Regions from separate parts of the Homo sapiens genome. Here region 1 is linked to region 2. Evidence: promoter capture Hi-C in 16 types of primary human blood cells and fetal thymus (Javierre and others, 2016). All regions are on one chromosome and are shown on one strand. Each heading gives the region's core, a stretch centred on a gene start or on the middle of the fragment in contact. The rest is flanking DNA. Distances are from core to core; before and after follow the strand shown. Region 1 overlaps PLCB1 (phospholipase C beta 1). Region 2 holds the start of PLCB1 (phospholipase C beta 1).

Evidence for each region. Contacts are between HindIII fragments. The CHiCAGO score rates a contact against its expected background, and 5 or more counts as called.
Region 1: a fragment that was not itself captured here is called in contact with the fragment with the promoter of PLCB1 in region 2 in 2 of 17 cell types (megakaryocytes and M0 macrophages); the score reaches 5.6 in megakaryocytes.

What each region holds. Positions count from the first base shown.
Region 1 is chr20:8,365,237-8,372,494 of GRCh38, forward strand. It overlaps PLCB1 (phospholipase C beta 1), which reads left to right. Exons shown (of 32, transcript NM_015192.4): 3 at 6,146-6,214. Among named protein-coding and RNA genes, the nearest start is that of PLCB1-IT1, 120 kb to the left of the region's middle. The HindIII fragment of the contact is 1,257 bases long and covers 4,140-5,396 here.
Region 2 is chr20:8,128,180-8,135,292 of GRCh38, forward strand. It overlaps PLCB1 (phospholipase C beta 1), which reads left to right and starts at 4,087. Exons shown (of 32, transcript NM_015192.4): 1 at 4,087-4,571. The coding sequence starts at 4,473. RefSeq lists a silencer at 4,173-4,312. The HindIII fragment of the contact is 1,963 bases long and covers 2,777-4,739 here.

The DNA of each region.
Region 1 (7,258 bases), core at 3,518-6,017, 240 kb after region 2:
GATAACAAGTGATAATTTGAGGGAAGAACTTACATTTTCTGCCTCCTACTTCTATGAAATTTGCACTATATTAAATCTAAGTGTGTTTAAATAAAGAAAGCCAGATGTGTCATCTTTCTCTTTTCTCTGCCTTGGTTCTTATTGATGACCTATACCTCTCATTTCCATTGGTGTTTCTTACTGTGGGTCTCCACTGAAAGTTGTGGAAATAAAGATGAAAATCATGCCTAGGAAACAAAGGAAAAGAGAGACCAGGTGGCAGACGGTGCAGAGATTTCTTTGAGAGGTACATTGCACAGATTTTTCACCCCCTCAGAAGTGGAATAAAGTTAAGGAACAAAGAATTGAGTCTAAGTCCATCTGCTTCTTGTTAAATGAAAACTATTTGTTAAAATACTCTAAAATCATTTTTTTAAAAAAATTGTGCATTTTAAGGAGGTTTGGCAGTCAGTAAAATATATTAATGTATTCTACTTTTGGTAAATCAAAATAGACCAACTTAATGACTATACCACACATGTATGTGGAGATATACATAATCACAATGCACACACCCAGCCATTAATATCTTCTCTGTGAAATGTTTATGACTGTAATTGCTGTTCTGATTATATACTGTGTGAACCTGAAACACATTATTATATTGGGTGACTAATGGAATTCAATAACAATGCACAGAAATTGGGATTCTGGAAAGAGTTGAGTTTTAAACTGTATTTCCTCCTCAGTTTGAAGTGGATTTCATGTCTCATCTACCACACAGTATGCTTATGGCTGATGGATTGAAATCTCTCTGCTAAATAGTAAACAACCAAGACAATTCAGTCTTCTCTTAGCTTGCCTGCTTTCTCGTCACTCATTCAAAATATTTTTGTTAAATACCCAAAACCCATTAATTAGTAATAATGGGTTTTGAGTATTTTGTTAAATACCCAATACCTCAGTTTGTTTAAGAGTTTAAGAGTTTCTGTTTTCCAGCTTTGTGGAATTCATTATTTCTTTACGACTTTCTTTGAAAGAGAGATCACAGGGTATATATGTGGAAAACTTGGGTTTGAGTGAAGACCCTAAAATTAATTATTCATGTATTCAGTCAATAACTTTACCACACTAACAATGCACAGAAATTGGGATTCTGGAAAGAGCTGAGTTTTAAATTGTATTTCTTCCTGAGTTTGATAATTAACATCTTCAGCAGGGTGTCGTTCATTCACAAACCAGGATGAAATACAGCCTGTGTGCTGAACTTTATGTTAAACACTGTACAAACAGAGATAAAAGTCCAAGGTCTTTTGTCGAGGGATTCACACCAAGTGGTGAAACCCCATGTCAATAGACAGTTACAATATTATTGTAATATTACTGTTAATTCACTTTTATCCATGCTGTTAATTCATTTTTATCCATACTGACAAAAAGAGAGGGCATATCCATCAATGCATCAGTGGATGCATCTGAGGTCCTAAGAGTGTGATCTCCAAGCTTTGCAGGGTGTCATTAATGGCCTTGGAAATAAAGGGTTCTTTTAGTACATGCCTCGTTTAATGATTCCGGTAGGTTCTTTTAGTACATGCCTCCTTTAATGATTCCGGTAGGTTATGTGACTTTAGGCACTTCAATTCCTTTCTCATTGTTGGATGGACTTCAAGGTTAGAGAGAACAAATTTTAATTTCTTTATTCCACTTTTCTAAAGATGTATCTAATGTTATGAAGTATAATGCAAAGGTTCTATGGGAGAACATCTGTGACAAACAAAACGATTTCAATTGTTGCTTGAGTTTCTGAACACCTAGGACATTTGCTTGGATAGAATATGATTTAATCCTAAAGAGAAATTATTAAAATAGCAGTCGATGGCATTTGTCATTCAATAGTTTTTTCTTCAGCTAACTCTCACCACTAGGCACACTTTTACATTCAGTAAGTGTAATATTTTTATTTGAAAGTTCCCAATATAAAGAAATGATAGTTATAGATTCTTCATATTAACAAAAGTAATGTATTGCTTTATCAATGATATTCACATGAAAGGCCTTATAACAACATGAGTGAGTATATAATTAGTGCTTCTCAAAGTGTGGTCATTGGACCAGCAACGTCAGCATCACCTGGAGGTTTATTTGAGATGCAGATTCTCAGGCCTGCCTCAGACTCACGGAATCAGAAAGTCTGACAGGTGACACGGAGCAAATCTGTATTTTACTAAGCTTTTCAGGTGACTGTAATGCAGGCTACAGTTGGAGAGCCACTGATACGGAAGGTATGATCATACCCATTTAATAGATGAAAAAATTGATGCTCAGTGTGGTAAAGTTATTGACTAAATACATGAATAATTAATTTTAAGGTCCTCACTCAAACCCAAGTTTTCTGCAATATACACTCTGTAGTCTCTCTCTCAAAGAAAGGAGTAAAGAAATAATGAATTCCACAAAGCTGGAAAACAGAAACTCTTAAACTGAGGAAGGGCAGAAAGGGACCATTTCACTGCTTTATTGTAATGAGTTGTTAAAACTATTGTCACGAGAAAATTAACCTAGAAAAAGTTTTAATGATACAAGAAACACTTTTGTGGTCATGCATTGGGTTCCTCATTTTCTTTTTAGTGGCAGAGAGAAAGGGATGCAGTTAAACTCCAGAGGGGTGGCTGTGGTATGTTAATAGAAGTGGGAGACACTATTTGAATCATCGCTTTGTAGCCAAATGAGTTCATGGACGGCATTTCCACCCAGGTCTTCCCCACGCCACATTACCCTTGATGACAGTGCCCTGCGGTGGTTTTCATGCACACAGTTGGCGTTAACTACCCTTCCGTGGCTTGGGGAATGAATCCTGGAAGTGGAATACAGAGTTCATTATCTGTAATGCAAAAGTCTATATAATGATGCCTGCTAAGATCTAGTTCTTTGTTAATTCAATTTGGGCTTTGCGTATATAATCAAACAAGTTATGTTTAAGTCTATTGTTTCTTCAATTGGGAGGAATTTCCTTAAATAGAAAATATTACGGGCCGGGCACGGTGGCTCATGCCTGCAATCCCAGCACTTTGGGAGCCCGAGGCGAGTGGATCACTTGAGGTCTGGAGTTTGAGACCAGCCTGGCCAACATAGCAAAATGCCGTATGTACTAAAAATACAAAAATTAGCAGAGCATTGTGGTGTGTGCCTGTAATTTCAGCTACTCGAGGGCTGAGGCACGAGAATCACTTGAACCCGGGAGGTAGAAGTTGCAGTGAGTTGAGATTGCACCACTGCACTTTAGCCTGGGTGATGGAGTGAGACTCTGTCTCTCAAAAAAAAAAAAAAAAAAAAAAGAAAAAGAAAAAATAAAAGAAAATATTACTATTGATTAGGTAAAAATACTGTGTGTGAGAGATATATTTTTATCCTATATAGATGTAAAACATCATGCAACATATATGGAAAATTACATCAAATGTAAATGTTAGTGTTTTATAAATAATTATAAAGAGAACACCCATGTAATGACCACTAAATCCCAAAGTGATTGTTGCTAATGCTCCATATACCTCTGTGACATATCCTAAGTGGGTTGTAGTTTTCTGCACACAATTCCTGCTTCTGTGAGTTTCTACCCGCAATTTCCTCTCTCTGAAACCACCACCCACCCTCCCACCCCGATCACACAGTTATAAGGCTGGCAAACTCTGTCTCATCCTTGTGTACTGGCTGAAATCATGCCATAGCTCTCTGTAGCCAATGTCTGTAGGGCACTTTGAAATATTTCCTTTAGCATATAATATTTGACTTGCTTGTGAACTCATCGAAACTGGGATCTTATCTTTGTATGTTTTAGTTTCTCAGTACTAGTGTATACCTGATACATTGTAGGCATTCAATAAATAATGCTCCAGTGAATTAATTACTGGCATTTTCACTTGGATAAACCCCTCAAACCAACATCTCCAGAATGCACTATCATTTTGCCCAAACTTCTGAGTCTCAGTGTAGGAAAGGTGGAAACTGCAGCGTGTTTTATGACTTCCCTCTTTCCTTCAGTCAGTTCCTCCATTGCCATCTCTCTCCTCTTTCTTCCAATTACTTACCTTCATTTTGTCTCTCATCTTTCACCTCTCAGATCTCCACTTATTTCCCATCTTCTAGATTAAACTTCTTCAAGCTTGATTCCCTTACTGTTTCTCCTCTTCCAGCAAATATTTTGGTTGTCATTGCTGTAGAGATGAAGAAACCTGGACATATGCTTGACTTACTCATGTCTGGTTTTTCCACCGTTTCTTCACAGAGGGTTCTATAATGTGCATTTTCTGAAGTGAAGCATTGAACATGGTTGAGACCATTGTTTTCTAACACTCATAAGGTAACCTCCAATATTGTGGATGGTGTGGCCTTCGGGGAACTGTGGCACCAGTCACTCTGTATTGCAAATTCCTTGCTGGGTTGCCACCTGTCACACCCCAGGGGTTTGGGAGAATTTCCACAGGGTCAGACACAGCATGAAATGGGCTAAGGAACCCTCTAAAATGGGGAAAATGAAACTTACAAGGTCAGAGTGAGCAAGAGCAGAGACCCACTGTTTCCTGTCCACCCTTCATCTCACAGAGAGGTGTGTCAGGAGTTCTGTTGGACCTTCTGTGTGGGTTTGCATTCGAGGAGTGAGACTTCACCTTTAATTTGGCCTTTACTACAAGGCAATCTTAGGTGCAGAAAAATAATCAGACCAGTTTGCACCAGACATTTGGAACTGGCAGCAGCTGTTTGAAGAAGTTGACTAAGAGCAAAAGGTGCTGGTTCTTAGGGAGCTTGGCCTTTAAGAAGTTACAGCCACTCCTATCCAGAGGTTCTATTGGCAGCTGAATTAGGATGCAGTGCCTCCTTCCGGGAGAAGGGGATTCGATGCTCCATCCAACTTGCTCATTGCCCAGGAATCATAGTTAGGACATCTGGAGTCACTTTAAGACAACTGCTCACTGCACCACAGTCCTACCTGGCTGGTGGTAGAGTCCACTGTCTAATGCAGCAACCTGTGTGTGTCACAAACCTCATGGCTCAGTCTCCTTAGCCAGACATTTAGGGTTTCCATTCTTTGGCCATATTCCTTTCTGATGTCATCTCTCATGACTTCTTGTCACATGTTCTGTGGCCTAGCCAATGGAATATTGAATGTCCTCCCACGTGAATCCGCTTCCATCCTTCTACAATACCACTGTACCTGCACCTTTGCAGTTCTTCCCTCCTGGATGCTTCTCTATCCTTCTCCCTACCTCCTTTCCCCGCAATGTTCTCTGTCTCTAAGTGTCTAAAGGCCACGAACACCTCAAGGTTCAGCCAAAACCTCTGGCCCTTTCTCATCTAGGCATTTGCTCATATTTTCCCCTCCAACTGGGAGGAACCCCTCCCCAACTTCTTTTTTTCCAAGCTTAATGATTTCTCATAAACTTTTCTCTGAGCCCCTAGGAAAAAAACTGTGTTTTCTTTGCTGCCCCCCAACCATAGTAGTCAACTTTAAAATTGGCATTAACACATTCCCCCTTGTCTTACACATATACATTTCTTTACACTCCTATTTGATGACAGGTCCATCCAGGAAAGCAATCATATCTTCTATGCCTTATTCCCTAGAGTAACTTGTGTATTACAGGTGTTCAATGATGGGTAATGATTAAGTGAAAAGATCAGGGCATGAGGTATGTGTGCAAAAGGCTGGGGGCTGTCAGAGGCAGATTCGTATCTCTGCCTTGGCCAGATAAGCTGGGTATGTATGTGAGCCGATGGGAGCATCCCACTCCGTCCTCCTCCCTAATCTTTCTCTCTACCGACATACCCTCATACCCTCACCTACGCTCAGTGACTCCCAGGATTATATTCAAAAGTAAGAACAAGAAGACCTGATTCATCATGATTTAGGAATGGCTTGTAGGATAGACTGGGGACATAACCACACACTTTTTGCTTTCAAAATGTATAACTGAGCAGTTAGCAGTTAGCTGTCTTTTGTTTCCAACCTAATTCAATTGAGAAGTGATATAAGAGGAAAGAAATATCCCAACTGCAGAGAAGTCTTCAGTCAAGTCTCAAGATAATTTTTTTAAGTGATGTCAATGACATAAAACAAAGAGGAAAGGTCTGTGTCGTTGCTTAACGATTTCACGTTTTTGCCTTCCAGGAGACAGAGCTACTGGATCTCAGCCTTGTCAAAGATGCCAGATGTGGGAGACACGCCAAAGCTCCCAAGGTAGGAGGTTGAGTGTTGTGCATGCACCAGATGCTGCCTTGATTGTTTGGCTGTGTCACAATATCAATTAATTGCCCCAATTAAAAGTTTCTATGTTATAGATGTTGTAAAACACAATAGCCAGTATGCCCTAAACACTTTCACTTTTATTAAAAGACGGAAACAATGAACAAATATGTGGGCTCTTGGACAGAGGGGCTTGCTTTATGTCCTCTAATTTTGCCTTTGTTTGAAAAAAAAAGACAACGACAACAATGCCCAAGTTACTGGGTAATTCTAAATGATTAAAAAGTACTTGAAATTATTTGAAAAAATCTTTGAACCTCGTAAACATATGGGAACTAACCGTTAGACATGATGAATAGAACTCCCATATAGCTGAAATGCTCTGCAATTGAAATGATTCCATCCACAATGCCAAAAGGTGTATAGTCTTAATTCTGCAAATGTTACTAGTAAAGATCAGCATACTTTGGGATGAATTGTGTGCAGTGTCATTTGTTTTGGTTTGAAAAACTTACTGAAGAAATATTCAAAGAAGTGTTTGCAGTCTGTTTATTTTTTGAAGATAATTTTTAAATATTGGATGAAGAACATAATTTTTTAAGCTTAGATGATCTGGTAGGATATAGTAGCAGGATATGTTGTCTTGCCATCAAAGTTAAAAGCTATTCTTCATTTTATTTAAAATTTAGTACTTTACATACTTCATTTCTGGCAGAGAGGGTATTGGCAAACATAGAAGTACAGTTGCCATTTAGGAGCTCAATGCGTCTTTCCATACTTGATATAAAACTAGCTATTTTCTATTTGAGTGTCTTCCCACAACTTTTGTTTTATCTTTTAAAAGTCAAAATTCTTTCTCTGACATTAAAATGATCTGTTGCTTTGGAGATGCAAGAAAAAAAAATCACCTGGAATAATTATTCTTCAGAGGCGTAAAAAGGCAGTAGGTGCCAGCATATTCTATGACACAGCAAACACACGGCTGCTGGGTTTTTTAATTTTTTAATTTTTATTTTATTTGCTGAAAGGGTTAAAATG
Region 2 (7,113 bases), core at 2,837-5,336:
TACCATGGTAGTTAAGAGTCTAGGTTCTAAAGTCAGACTTCCTAGGTCTCCATCTCAATTCCGAATTTTGTAACTGGAGGAGGTTAATCCATCCTCCAAACTTTAGTATATAAATCAGTAAAATAGCATACAATAATATTATCTACCAGATCAGCTGAGAGTAACAATAAAGCTTAAATAATAAAGAGATTTATTATCTCACTCATTAAAAAGTCTAAAGAAAATTTAAAGGGTTTAAAAAGCTCATGAAGGACCAGGTTTCTTTGCATCTTTCTTGTCAGTGTCCTCTTTACATAACAATATGAGACAGAGAAAGAGAATTTCCCTGAAGACATTAGTCAGAACTGAGCCCCTCATATAGCTCTTAAACCAGTTACAGACAAAGGGGAATGGAATTATTGACATTAGTTTAGGCCAATCATAGTTTGTTCCTTGGAAAGAGAGAGGGGCCATGTTTCCTAAGCATGACGACCACCCAAATTAAGTCAGGGTTTGCTTACAAGAAAAAGAGGGTGGAGAGTGGTGTTGAATAGGAAGGGTTATGTTTTTTAGTGTCTGGGAAGTGCTTAGCTTAGTGCTCTGACCCACAGTGAGTGCTCAATAAAGGTTAGCTTTGCCAGCTCCCTGAGGCTGACATTCCCAGAGGGCAATTCTGTGCTCTCACAAAAAACAGACCTTCCTATTGTTTCAAAAAACAGTACACAGCACCGAACTTGACGGATCACAGGCCTGGCTCACACAATTTTGGATTTCTTACAGATCCCTTTGCATAGCAAAAATCTCCACACTTGGACACAGGAAGGGGAACATCACACACCGGGAACTGTTGTGGGGTGGGGGGACGGGGGAGGGATAGCATTAGGAGATATACCTAATGCTAAATGATGAGTTAATGGGTGCAGCACAACAACATGGCACGTGTATACATATGTAACTAACCTGAACGTTGTGCACACGTACCCTAAAACTTAAAGTATAATAATAATAATTTAAAAAAAAGAATGGGAAAAAAACAAAAAAACTCCACACTTTAGAAACATTTCTATCTTGTATACTGAACAAAAGGTGTGGAAAATGAGGGAGTTAAACCATGCTGCTTCAAGCATCATGCTACATGTTGAAGGTATTTATCCTGTAGTTCTCCTTTAACAAACTGCGTCATTTTGCTGGCTGAAGAAACTCTTGCAGCCCATGTTTGTCTTGAAGACAAATCCTGTTCAGATTTCTACAGCGTTCTCTCCTTTTTACGTCCACGTTCACAGCAACAGCTGGGAGGAATCAGGGATGCTAGATGAAATACTCAACTATCCATTGCCAATAATGGTGGTTACCAAATGACTCCCAACTCAGTGCCATTCAACAATGAACGTTTATTGTCATGTTCATGAGTCTGCAGGTTGGCTGAGTCTGGGAGATCTAGGATGGTTTCTACTGGACTTGCTTCCAAGCTGTAAATGGGGCTTAGGTCTGTCCTGATTGTCTCCTTAGATCAGAGGCTCCCTGAGGCATGTTTATCTCATGGAAATGATAAGAAACCCAAGAGGGAAAGCCCAACCTCAAAGCATATTTTGAGCCTTTGCTAATATCACATCTTCAAACATGCCATTGGCCAAAGCAAGTCACATTGTCCAACATCAATGGGATGGATAAATAAACAGGGTGTCTAGTAAAAACTGTAAGGTCACAAAGAAAAATGTGTGGACGCAGAAAGGAGCAGGGAGCAGAGAGCTATGATGCAATAAACTACCACAGGAGGCTCAATCTACTTCTTATTTTGCTTAGAGCTCATTGTAACTCTCCAATCTCCTCTTCTAGTGAGCGCAGCCCTGTCTTGCCTTCCTAAGCCACTGTGACAGGTAAAAACTATTTGGCCAATAATCTTTCCAGTAAATAACAAAGAGATAGAAGGAGAAAAGGAAAAGAAAGGAAAGGAAAGGAGGAAAGGAAAGGAAAGGAAAGGAAAGGAAAACAATTTGGTATGATCAGTTGTAAGGACAATTGAGAAGTTCTGGAGCCCTGGAAGCAGAGTTTCATTGCAGTACTCTGAAGTAGAGAAAATCGACTTGAGACGGTGACTGATACCTTCTGTGAGGTAATTAGCAAGCCAAGGCTGCTGGCTAGAGGGACTGTGGACCATTCAGGTTTTAGTTTAGGGACATGTGATCAAAATGAAACCAGTCAGTTTTTCATGAAATTCTTTGTAGCAATTGGCTTCCAAGCACAAGGCAAGACCCTCAAATGACAGCAAGAGTCATGGGTCTTGTTCACCAGGTTATCCATGGTGATTACAATAGTGGCTAGTATACAGCTGGCTACCAATAAGTATATTTTAAATGCATTGAAATATTTAATAGCAAATTTCTGTATTGGATTTTGGTAATCTTTTGACTGAGTTCATAAGCATTGGGCCTTGGAGTCCTGAGGGCAGAGAACAGGGAGAATGAAGGATTAAGAGAATGTAGTGTTTCTCTCCATTTTTCTCTCTTCGTATTCTTTCTTCTTTTTAAAAATCAACCTTTTTGAGATATAATTTATTTAAAACAAACTGCACTCAATTTAGGCGTACTTACAGAACTTACAAGTTTTGATAAACACACACACGATATAGAACATTTCCGACATGCTCATCAGGTGCTCGTAGCCCTTCCCTGTCCATCTCTACCTATCCCTGGCCACAGGCAAGCTTTCTGTCAACATAGAATATCTTGCCTATTCTGCAATTCCTACACATGGAATCAGGCAGCATACAGTCTATCGTGTCCGGCTTCTTTTACAAAGCTTAAAGTCGCGATTCATCCCTGATCTTGCATGCCCACTCATTTTTATTGTGGAATAGTATTCCAATATTTGGGCATACCACAGTTTGTTTATCCATTCACCTGTTGATTGACATTTGCAGGCTACTAAGAAGAAAGTTCTTCACATCACTTTACAAGTCCCTGCAGACTTGAACGTTTTCATTTCTTTTGGACAAATACTTAGGAGTGGAATTTCTAGGTTGTATGATAAGTAAATATCTTACTTTATAAGAAACTATTCTCCAAAGTGGTTTTACTATTTTATATTCCCTCCAGCAATGAACAAGAGTTCCAAGCTATTTCTCTCTCCGCCCCCCCACCTCCCGCGTGTGTCTCTCTCTCTCTCTCTTTCTCTCTCTCACACTCACTCACTCTCTCTCTCCCTCTCCTCTCTCTCCTTAATAAAAAAAAAAAAAGAGTTCCAGTTGCTCCACATCCTTTCAAGCATTTGGTATTACCAGTCTTTAAAATTTTATCCATTCTGGTCCTCCTCTTTCCCTTCTTCCCTCCCTCCCTCCCTTTCTTTCTTGAATTGAGAAATGTTTGTGGAAGGAGTGAAGACAAACATTCCTGGACCTATGTTCCTAAATGAGCAAGTTTCTATTAATAAGACTCTCCCCCACCCGCCACACATCCTACACACTCAAGGAGAGGAGCGGGAGAGGGCACCCTCTTTCTTCCTCGGAAAATAAAACCTTTGCTTTCTTTAGGATGGGCTTTCTGTCTCGAAAGCACAACGTAACCGTTTGCCCGGGTTTCAAGATCAGCGCGCTGCAAACTCTCAGGCGCGGCCAGGTTTCCTCAAAGAGCCTCTCAACTGCGCTCTTCTCTGCTGATAAATGATAATTCTCTTCAAAAAGCTGGTTTGTGGCTGGCGCTGGAGAGCTCCAGCTAGAGCCAAAAGCCAGGGGTTGCCTCTTTGGTTCCTCCCGATGGGCCCCTTTTCCCAGCCAGTTGGGATCCAAAGACGCTCCGGAGCTCGAGCCCAAATTCCCAAGAAAACCCCAAAGAGCGTAAGGCTCCTGGGGACCCCTAGCACCTCTGCAACCAGGGCACGGGGCATGCTCAGAGCGAATGCGGGAGGCAGGCGTTGGCTGCAATGGGGCTCGGGAGCCAGGAGGTGCCGCTGCGTCCCCGCTTCCTGGCGCCTGACCCAGCGTGCAAAGTTGGGCTGGGAGCCGCGGGGGGAAGGAAGGACCCAGCGAGCGAGGGTGGCGGGGAAGGGGGGCGGGGGGGAGGAGGAGGGAGGAGGGAAAAGAGCGGTTAGGGGGGGCGCCGGGCGTGTGTCACTCGCTCTCTCCCTCTGTGTATAGAGGATGTGCTGAATGGTGCGCTTTGAGGCGGCGGCGGCGGAGGAGCAGAATCCGCCGCGACTGGCAGCCTCGGCTGACCGGCTCGGCTTCTCTTCGCCTTCCGAGGCTCCTCATCCACCGCGGGCTCCAGACCTCGCGTCCCGCCCGGGGCATGGCCGGGCGCTGCGCCCCCGCGCGCTCTGCCTGCTGAGCGGCGCCGGAGGGAGGTGCGGAGGCCGGGAGGCCGGGGAGGCCGGCGGGGAGCAGAGTCGAGCGCCTCCGGAGCAGAGAAAGGAGCCCGCGCCCCGCGCCCCGCGCCCCGCGCACGGTCCCCAGTCCCTGCCGCGCTCGCCCGGGCCGCCCGGAGCCCAGATGAGCCCAGATGGCCGGGGCTCAACCCGGAGTGCACGCCTTGCAACTCAAGCCCGTGTGCGTGTCCGACAGCCTCAAGAAGGGCACCAAATTCGTCAAGTGGGATGATGTAAGTATTGGGGCGGCCCGAGTCGGGGCGCTGGCTCGGGCACCGGGCAGGGCGGGCGTCGTGGGGGTGGGGCAAGGGGCGCGTTATGCAATGGGCGCACTGGGAGCGGGCAGGGGCAGCCTCGGGCGCACAGGTTGGCATCTGCCAAAGCGGATGTCCAAGGGCAGAAGCTTTGCGCGCGCTCCTGTTTCATCGGGCTTCAGTAGTTGCCATCCTTTCTGGGTCTGGCAGGCGCCCCCTGAGGGTCTTACATCTTTTGGGCCAGTGGAGAGGGAGGGGCAAGCTTTGCCTGGTGACAGGTCCTGAGAGTTCGGAAAGTAGGGAGTGTGAAGTTGGGACCAACTGGAAAGCGCCTGGTGTGAACAAATCGCGTCCCTCTCCGCCTGCGGACGCACCCCCTATTACCTCTTTTGCCCGATTTCAAGAAGGAAGGACCTGAAGTTCAAAACACTTTAGTGATTGCGAACCCTCTTGGCGCTTTTGTGGGAGCCAAGGCGGCGGAGGACACAACGGTCCAGCCAACAGGTGGTCGTTGATGCCAAACTTCAGCGCCTGGCTCCGGAGTGAGGGTCCCTGAAAAGGGCTGCGGGGACACATCTGGGGAGGGCGTGAACAGAATGGGGGCCCTTGAGGGGTCCTGGAGGGCTCATGGGCCTGCAGGCAAGTGGGGAGGGCTGACTTTTGAGAACTGAGCTGATTGGAGTCTTCTGCCTGAAATAGACAGGTTGAGAGTTTGCCCCACGATTTACCTGCACCGTTTGCCAGGTAGGGCAGAGCCTAGCCCAGCGCCGGGGTCTCTAATGCTTTACGAGCGGCCCAGACCCCAGGACTTCAAATGACTTCCCCTTCCCCTCTACCCCAGTTGTCTTCAAAACACGTAAATTAGTTATCCAGCTGAAAACATGCGAATCTTCGGATGGAGAACATTATGGTATCAGTTTTATGTCCTGGGTGTCATTCTAAAGGTTCGATAAGAAAAACCTACTGAAATAAACCCGAGTTGCCAGGCTCTAAGCAAATTTAAGTCCAAATGACTAATACATCTCTTAATCAGAAGGAATTATAGGAGAATGAGGCGTTCTTCTTGCCGAAAAGATTTTCCACCTAGTAAATTATAGCCTGTTATCCTCTAGGGTATTTTTCTTTAATCTTCTTAAGCCATTTTCCAGTGTCTGAAAACAATTTAAATATTCCAGGTAGTGAATCCAATTACTTAGCTGAGTGCGTCTGTGTCTATATTTTGTCCAGCTGGAAGCGCAAACGGAACTTGGAGTATGAACCACAGCTTCCTTGAAAGCTCGTGCCAATTATTAAATGCTGTAGGCAAGGATGTAAACATACATCTTTTTACCATGGGCTTCACACTTTTCTTCTTTCTGTTCCAGTCTAATTGTACTGAATGTTTCTGTAAATGGAATAGAATCTAAACAATAAATTCAGACGCAGATTAAATGCTTTGTGTCAGGGAAAAAAAAGACAAAGAAAATGCAGTTCAGCAATAAACAAGACGGTCTTGCCCATTTTGAGATCCTTGAATAGAGAGGTGATGTGATGATGGATTTACTGAGAAAGAGAGTGAAGGGCAGAGGAAAGAGAAAGAGACTTTGCAGAATTTAGAAAAGGGAGTTTCAGCGTAAGCTCTGGATTTGTATACAGTGATGATTCTAAACTGTATTTTAAATAATTCTCTATAATTTCTTGTTTGGGAGAGAATAGCCAACATCACATTGAGAATGAAAGTATTCTATGAAAACACATTTTGGTATATCCAGGTAGATGACTTTCATTATGTGCATTTCTGTAACACATATTTCTTGCTCACCTATTACTGCCAATCCTAGACTGGATTCTGGGGTGGTGAAAAAAGTAGACAAAATCCCTGCTGTTACGGACCTTACATGCTAGGTGGAGGAGACAAAAATCATCAAAAACACCAATGAGAGAGAGATTGGGTGATGCATTGAGGGTAATAGAGAGGACGTTAGTGAAATACCAACCAAAGAAGAAGTTGAAAAGAGCTCCTTCTGAGCATTGCAGCAGTGAGTTTCCAAGGAAGCCCTCCTGAAAGAAAGGACATAGTCACTAAGGAGAAGACCAGAAGAATTTCAGGTCTTTTTTAAAAAAAAAAAAAAAACCTAGACTGCACTCAGGAGTCAAGTTATCTGGAATATAATGAGCTATCTTGCAGGCTCTTTGGTTCTCTGGGTCTTCATGCTGATCAGTGGACTACAAGGGACCCAGCCTTTCTTAAGGTTGCCTTTCTCTTCCCCAGGCATCCCTTTTCTACTCTTCTCAGCTCGTATTTGCCCTTCCAGAATCAAGCCAGTTCAAGTTATCTGGCTATTTATATTGTACCTTAGTGAGACAGTGTGTTGAAGACAAAAAAGAACCAGATCTTGAATCAAAGGCCTGAGTTTACCTCCTAGTTCTTTCACCAGTAAGCTGCATGACTTTAGGCAAATCACTTAGCTTCTCTGTATTTTTGCTGCTTCTTGTGTAAAAGCGTGGTAATGTTACAGGACATTCAAAAATGATGAATTTG